Linked DNA regions of Homo sapiens: region 2 is linked to region 1. Evidence: promoter capture Hi-C in human tissues and cell types (Jung and others, 2019). All regions are on one chromosome and are shown on one strand. The core of a region is centred on a gene start or on the middle of the fragment in contact, and the rest is flanking DNA. Distances in the headings are between cores, read along the strand shown.

What was found. Contacts are between HindIII fragments. The study calls those that stand out against the background at their distance.
Region 2: a fragment that was not itself captured here is called in contact with the fragment with the promoter of IGF2R in region 1 in 1 of the 25 tissues and cell types used here (H1 embryonic stem cells).

Annotation. Positions count from the first base shown.
Region 1 is chr6:159,967,084-159,971,219 of GRCh38, forward strand. IGF2R (insulin like growth factor 2 receptor) reads left to right here and starts at 1,999. Exons shown (of 48, transcript NM_000876.4): 1 at 1,999-2,312. The coding sequence starts at 2,164. RefSeq lists silencers at 1,560-2,179, 2,190-2,469, 2,490-2,619. The HindIII fragment of the contact is 6,621 bases long and covers 341-4,136 here.
Region 2 is chr6:160,354,415-160,358,550 of GRCh38, forward strand. The region is part of intron 1 of SLC22A3 (solute carrier family 22 member 3); the gene reads left to right. Among named protein-coding and RNA genes, the nearest start is that of SLC22A3, 8.1 kb to the left of the region's middle. The HindIII fragment of the contact is 4,722 bases long and covers 1-4,136 here.

The DNA of each region.
Region 1 (4,136 bases), core at 749-3,248:
TCTCCTTGGATTTTCCTTTGAACCAGCTGTGACATGTTACCGGTTCTCACATTAATGAATGAGCTAAGGAATACCTTTGATACATGTTCATTCTACATCTGAGTCATGATTATACCATCTTTTAAATATTACCCTTTAGCATTTTTTATTGCATCACTTTAGAAAGCAGAAAATGCTAGTTTTTTAAAAATTGGTGATACTAGTTTTAATTACTTGATTAAGGTGGTTCTACCAGATCTTTCCATTGTGAAGAGGTATTTTGTGTTTTTTAAGGAAGTATACTTTGAAGGTGATACTTTGAGACAAAGAGAATATTCCGCTTCACAATAATTTTTCACCAGATGGTTTTAGTATTTACTGATGGTCTTTGCCTGTATCCATTATAACACTGGAGTTGCAAAACACAAACCCTTTTTCTTTTTTTTTTTTTTTGAGATGGAATCTCGCTCTGTTTCCCAGGCTGGAGTGCAGTGGCACGATCTCTGCTCACTGCAACCTCTGCCTCCTGGGTTCAAGCGATTCTCCTGCCTCAGCCTCCCGAGTAGCTGGGACTACAGGCGTGTGCCACCACGCCCGGTTAATTTTTTGTATTTTTAGTAGAGATGGGATTTCACTGTGTTAGCCAGGATGGTCTCGATCTCCTGACCTTGTGATCCGCCCGCCTTGGCCTCCCAAAGTGCTGGGTTTACAGTCGCGAGCCACCGCGCCCGGTCACCACAAACCCTTTTTCGACGTCCACAGTTTACACCTGAGCTCTCCCTTTGACCCACTACAACACTTTCTTTTCTTGGGCAATATATTAATAGCACGGTGGTTATGTCACAGGCCTGTGACTGGCTTGGGCTCAAACCCGGGCTTTTTCACTTACTAGCTGCAAGACTAACTAGTTATTTAATTTCTCCATTCCTCACTTTCCTTATCTGCAAAACGGATGCAATAAAGGCACCCCCTCTTACAGGACTGTTAGGATTAAATGAGCTAAATCACAGTGTCCGAACACTTCAGTACTTCGTACATAATTACTTGCTCAAGAAATGTTAGCTATTATTGGGTCATGATTATTTATATGTGTTTGAATTCCAGCTTTGCCACATCCCAGAGTGTCTTTGAGTAAGTCACTGAGTATCCTTGTGCCTCAATTCCTCATCTATAAGTAGGTTCCCATCTCATAGGTTTTTAAAGATTCATGCTTACATGCTTAGCAGTGTCTGGTATGGAATAAGCACTAAAAAAGATGAGCTTTTATGATGATGATGATTACTATTTTCAGTCATGATTATTTTGTATATTTACTCTAAAAGAAAGTGAATTTTTTTAGTTCAAGACTTTTAGATTCATCGTTCTACTTTCATTGTGGCTAGCTCATGGCCATCCACGTAGTGAATTAATAAAGCTTTGTTGAGTGGCACTTGCTTGACAGCGACACTTTTGTCCACTCTTTCACCTTGCTGGATTTGTGCTGCCTTCCTTGCTGTAGGAAGCCCACGCTTGGGAAATAACATTCCCACAGAAGGTCTGAGAGGCTCTGACGGGCCAAGGTTGTAAACCCCCATGATTTGACTCCACGGGCAGTTAAAGTGTGTTCCCACCCCCCACGGATCCGCTGCCACTAGGCTGTGCGAAGGCATTTACCTCCCTGGCACTTTGATCCAAGTTCCCTATTTTCCCCTACTGGTCGATCGAGGTTGGGAACAGTTGCTCTAACCTGGGAAGCACCCGCCACGATCCAGCAGGGCGCGGTGGGAGGGGAAACTGAGGCCCGGCTAGGCACCCCCGCCGCGCCCAGCCCGCCGAGAGGCTCAGGCCCCGGGAGGCACCTGGAGCCTGCGCCCCGCCCGCGCCGCTTCCTGTCCCGCGCGCTGCGCTCACGTGACCCGGGCCTGGGAGGAGCCGGGGCGGGCGGGGGTCACCTGAACAAGGGAGTCACGTGAGCGGGGGGCGGGGGTGGGGGGGCGGTGCCGGGCGGCTGTCACGTGACGCGGTTCCGGGGCCGCCGCTGCCGCTGTCGCTGTCGCCGAGCCCAGTCGAGCCGCGCTCACCTCGGGCTCCCGCTCCGTCTCCACCTCCGCCTTTGCCCTGGCGGCGCGACCCCGTCCCGGGCGCGGCCCCCAGCAGTCGCGCGCCGTTAGCCTCGCGCCCGCCGCGCAGTCCGGGCCCGGCGCGATGGGGGCCGCCGCCGGCCGGAGCCCCCACCTGGGGCCCGCGCCCGCCCGCCGCCCGCAGCGCTCTCTGCTCCTGCTGCAGCTGCTGCTGCTCGTCGCTGCCCCGGGGTCCACGCAGGCCCAGGCCGCCCCGTTCCCCGAGCTGTGCAGGTGGGTGGCCCGCCCGGACGCAGGCTCCGCTCGCGGTGCCCGGGGTGAGCGGCCGGCGTGGGGGGCGGGGAGCGCTCGAGGAGCTCCTGGGGTCTCCAAGTCGCCTCCGTTCCGCGCCGGGGTCCGCCCCGTTCCCGAGGGAAAGTTGCCTGCGTGGTGTCCGCGAGTCCCGCCGGGTCCCGTGCGCAGGCGGGGGGCGCGGGGGCACACGCGGTCGTGGCGGTCCTGGAGCCCCGCGTCCGGCCACTTGTGGCTGTCGCTGAGTCGGGGGTGGCTTTGTGCGGAGCGGTCGCCCCGGCCCTTGGGGTCGGCGCCTGCCCTCGCGCGGCCGGGCGTCCGGGAAAGTTGGAGGCAGGAACTCCAGTTTGCTTTGTTCCCGCTGCGCGTTTGCATCAGAGTTTCGCCAGCGGGGCACCGGTGAGGCCCCTCGGTGTGGAGAGGCTCACCGGGGCGTTGGAGCCCGCAGGAATGGTCCTGGAGTTGAGTGTTTGTGGTTTCATTTGCTGATTGATTTCCCCCCGTGGGCTCATTTTCTCTTTAAAGAATATATATATATATATATTTTTAGCAGGCGGTGACTTTTGTCTTCTTTAGATTGGGGGCAGGGGGTGTCGTCCAGTGTGAGCTTTCAAGACTTGACCCTTCACTTCTCTGAGCCCAACTTCCTGCCTGGTTGCTCACATGATGTCATTGTCTCCGGGGCGGATTATTCTAGTGGATCTTGCTCTGGGAACCATGATTGTATAACCCATCAGTCCCATCGAGGGCTGTTCACCTCGCGCAACTGCTAGCAGTCCAGGGCCTGGGGAACTTCGAATTTCAGGAATTTTCTGACCATCCTTTTCTGGACTGTTTAGGATGATGGAAAATTCAGCTTTTGTTTATTTTTTTAAACTTTGGTAAAAAGGAAGCAGGATGAAAAGTTTTGAACAGACAACAGTTTCTCCCTGTTACTGTTACTTTTACAAGTTACTTTTACAAGTTACTTTTCAGAGTGAAACAAAGTTGAGCCTACTTTGGGCTGAACTTGGAGTTTGTGGTAGGGTTTATGGGGGGGGTTCTTATTTTTCCCATGCATCAGAGATAGTTTTATTAGCACCCCTGTGTTCAGAACATGCAGAAATTAGTCTAAGGAGGGTGAGGCTGATCTCACGATAGAAACTCTTTGGAAAGGCCCATATTTTTTATGCTCCCTTTTTTGGAAGGGGAAGGGTGGATGGAGGGAGAGTTTGTGACACTAGTTTAAAGACCAGTTAGCTACCCTAAGATACATAGTTACTCCAGTAACTAGTATGATACAGAGAAATGGTGGCAGCTTAAACGAGGTCAGGCTGAGAACAACATTTAGAGGAAGGCATTTTGGAATAATGGCTTCTGTGACCAAAAATAAGAAATTAACTCGCCTGGGCGCGGTGGCTCATGCCCGGAATCCAGCACTTTGGAAGGCCGAGGTGGGCGGGTCACTTGAGTCCAGGAGTTGGAGGCCAGCTTCAGCAACATGGCGAAACCCCGTCTCTACAAAAAATATGAAAATTAGAGCCGGGCGCGGTGGCACACTCCTGTCCTCCCAGTTAAGGGAGGCTGAGGTGGTAGGATAACGTTAGCCCCGCAGGTCGAGGTTGCAGTGAGTTGTGATCGAGTCGAGTTGCACTCTAGTCTGGGCGACAGAGCAAGGCCCTGTCTCAAAAATAAATAAATAAATACAATAAGAAATTAACCCAGCTGGCCTAGTGTGGTTGAAGTCTTGGTCTTGTTAACAAATTGAAGTTTGTTTTCTTCACAGTTAAGATTAAGGTGGCTTCAAGGGCAGACTGATACTTTGGC
Region 2 (4,136 bases), core at 973-3,472, 390 kb after region 1:
CCCTTAAGCCAGGTGGGAGTCAGGAGGGAGGGAAGGAACAGGCTATGGGCCAGATTTGACCCTGGAGCTGTAAGTTTGCTGATCCCTGGTCTAGCATAATAAATCACTGATAAATTTGCCTTAAATATAAAGAGTCAAAGCCTTGGCCAGTTGTGGTGGTTCATGCCTGTAATCCCAGGAGTCTGAGGCCAGCCTAGGCAGCATTTTGAGACTCCAACTATACAAAAATATTTTAAAATTTTTAAAAAATTGGCCGAGTGTGGTGATGCATGCCTGTAGTCCTATCTACTCAGAAGGTTGAACCCAGGAGGTCGAACTGTGCTGCTGTATTCCAGCCTGGGTGACAGAGGAAGACCCTGTCTCTAAAAAATAAAATAAAATATCTCGGACACTAATTTGCTCTAAAGGCTGAGAATACCGATACTTTCCCACTGGACCCCACAGGTAGGTCATATTTCCCAGCTTCCCTTGAAGCTAGAGAGGCCACGTGTCTGAGTCCTGGTCAGTGATGTTGGGGAAGTGAATGTGGAACTGCTAAGCCTGGAGCCGGAGCAACCTTCCTCCTGCAGTCCCCGGAGGATGGTGGAACTCTTACACGGAAGGATATGCGTTCCTGGAGGCATGCGAGGCAGGCAGGAGCCCCACAGCTCCCCTCCACACCAATTCATCTGCACAGGAATATGGGATTGCGAATAAGAAATAAGCTTTATTGTGTTACACAACTGAGGCTTGGGAGACTGCTTGTTGCAGCTCTTCCTGTTAGGCTGCTCTGACTCATACAGCATCTTAGTGTGCTTCCTGGCAGGGCACAGGTCACGAGGCTGTGGGCACCTGACAAAATGGTATGGAGGCTGGTGCCTCTAAGAGCATCCTCCCCTAGGTCTGGTACACAAGGTCTCTGTGCCTCCACCCCATGTCTCCGCCTATAGAGGCTTTTCCCTCTCTTAGCCCCCGGGGCTCCCACTCTCCAGGCAGTCACCCTGGGACATGTGCCACAGCTGTCCTCCCCTTGGGCTCTTGTGTGCGCTGTTTCCTTTCCTTTCCTCAAAATACCTGTCTTTCCTCGGCCGGGCACGGTGGCTCACACCTGTAATCCCAGCACTTTGGGAGGCCAAGGTGGGCAGATCACGAGGTCAGGAGATCGAGACCATCCTGGCTAACACGGTGAAACCCCGTCTCTACTAAAAAAAAAAAAAATACAAAAACGATTAGCCAGGCATGGTGGCGGCTGCCTGTAGTCCCAGCTACCGGGGAGGTTGAGGCAGGAGAATGGCGTGAACCCGGGAGGCGGAGCTTGCAGTAAGCTGAGATCGCACCACTGCACTCCAGCCTGGGCGACAGTTAGAGACTCTGTCTCAAAACAACAACAACAACAACAACAACAAAAAACTTGTCTTTTCTCATGAGGCTGTTCCGTTTTGTACCTTTACACACACCAATTCCAGACACACCTTCCCCACTGCTGCCTCTACCCAGGGCTGGGCTTGGCTTCCTTTATCTGTCTAGCTGCCTTCCCTCTACTCATCTTGTGCTCACTGCCTCATCAGACTCTGAGGTGCTGGAGGGCCGGCGCTCTGCCCTCCTAGCCTAACGCAGTGTTTGGCAAATATTTGTGATTAAATTAATGAATGAAAGAGAAAGGGATTCCTTGGCACGTGTAATGCTTTTTATGACCATGGCTAGGCCAACCCTGGAATTGGCTTTCAGAGATTAACCCAGGCCCTCTACCGATGGTGTTGCTTCCTGTTGACTCCTAACGCCGATTCCTTGCCTCATCCTCCGCCTTCATCATCTTCTGCCTTGCATCCATGAGGTGTGATCAGTCACAGGGTGAACAATCATCGGCGGCCATGGCCGCCCGCAGACCTCTGGAGCAGGAGGAAAACAGGCCTCCACTTTACTTGACTCCTATCTGCTCATGGGGTCTGTGTCCGCAGAATCCTAATGTAGGGGGTGTGACCTGGAACATGAAAGGGACAGGAAGGAATAGAACTGCTGGCTCTTTGGGGCCATAATTTTAATGTGCTGACGTCCATTGTGCAGAAGAGACTTTTCCCAGCTGTCCTGGCACCACACAGTAGTCTGTGTCATCAATCGAGCCTGCTCCAGGGCAGCTGGGCACAGGTGCAAGGCCCGGTGCAGGGAGGAGCACTGAAGGGCCTGGGCTGAGCAGCTCCCAGGGTGCAGCGCTGTCCCCTTCATGGCTATGGAGTGGGGAGCAAACACCACCTACCTTCCAAAACAAACTAAAACCTTTCCAACATTCTGCCTCGGTTTTTTCCCCACCCCCTCTTAAATCATAACCAAGAAAGGACATGTATTTATATTCTGTGAGGAAAAAGCAAAGTTTTAATGGTCTTTGGTGTGGCTTTTTAAAATGATAAATGACTGTTGAGCTTGTCAAATCATGGCTAATACTGTTTTATCTGGGTGAGATCAGTAACAGCTTTTTAAGGGTTACCATGCTGTTATTTCTCTTCGTGTTGGTAATAAAGCAAAATAACTCTGTGGCTGGTACTTGTGTGATAATAGAGAAAATTAGTGAGGGGTGAAGTTTAGGGGCTTAGAAGAAGGTGAATAAATAAATGTAATTTAAACAATTCTGGGGCAGGCATCCATCCCACCTTCCTTAACATCTGCTCTAGATTCTAGTGCCCTGTAGAGTCCAAGGAGGGGAGCTGTCCTTGACTGTGAGCATAGTGGAAACCACTGGATGGAGGAAGGGTAGGCACAAGCCTGGACCTGAGAAACAAAGGCACCTATTCTGCTTTCAAATTCAGTCCTGGGAGAGCAGGTGACCTCTGTCATAGGACTGCTATAGGGCACCAGCAGTGGAGATAACCAAGTGATAAGCAAGTCTTTGGCTTTCCATTAACAGAGACCACTGGTCCCAACATGGAAAAGCGTCCCAGAAGCCTTTCCCAGTTGCTGCGTCCACCTAGCATACACACAGGATGGCTCTGATTTCATGACACTTCTGCCAACGGGAAGCTTTGGGCAATCGACAGCACAAAATGAAAGACAACATGTGTGCTTCCAGGCTAGTGGGGAGGGACGCCGTAAGCTGATGCTTCTGAGACAGAAACCGAAGGGACAAGGTGCCAGGAGCTCCTATACTAAAAACTGTTTGTAGCACATTTATGGGGATTAAGTGGTTGTGGTGAAAACAGCCTGCACGTTTAATATTGATGACGTTTTAAAAAGCAATGCACTGCAAATATCTGTTGAGAAATGAATGCCCTTTAATTGTTCACAAATGAGTATCTTAAAGAAAATACCCATAGAGAAGTCACCTGGATAGTTAAAAACATTAACTACCCAGGGTAGAGGAGAAAATTAGATTGAAACTAATTCAGATTAATTTGGCATCAACTTTAAAGAAATCAAATAAATAAATGTCCAAGTTATTAGAGTGTAAGAAAGTGTTCCAGGAACCTTTTCCACAGAGGTTCTTGATCTTCCTGTGTGGCAGTTAGTGGGAAATTATGTGACAAATTTATCACATCTCTTGTCAGCTCCTAGCATCCTTGTAAGATTGCTACAATTCCCTATCCAGTCTGTATCTAATAGAGCATACATAATGATTTTTATTTTAATTCCAACCAAGTTGAATACATTATAAAACCAAATAAAATTGTCTATTTATCAACTCCAGAGATCATTAGATAATAACAATTTATTGTTGCAGAGTTTTGTGAAAAAATTATCAAATTTTAGATCCAAACTGGTTTAGTGTAGTGTATTGCTAAGGCAAATAGGTGGCTAAGAACGTAGACTTCCTAGTTTTGTGGATGCAAGCAAATGGCTGAATTTGAGGGTTTTTGAGCTCTGGACTAGCCCAGTCCTGAGATTTCCTGGTTTTAGTGGGGAGACTTAGGTAAATAAGGCATTCAAAGTGCTTGTCCTGTTGTCTGAGATATGTAAGTAGCTGGTGATGATCATAGATGCTGACAACAGATACTGAGAAAGTTGACTCAGAGAGGCAGCTTGGGCCTGGAAATTCAGGCAAATGGCAAGCCCCTAGGGCTGAGGGAAGCGTGCTTTAGGCAGGGCACCAAGATTCCAATACTAAGGACGTGGCCAGGGTCCACTCTCTGGAGCTGGTATAAACTGGAGCTTAGTAATGAAAACTAGGG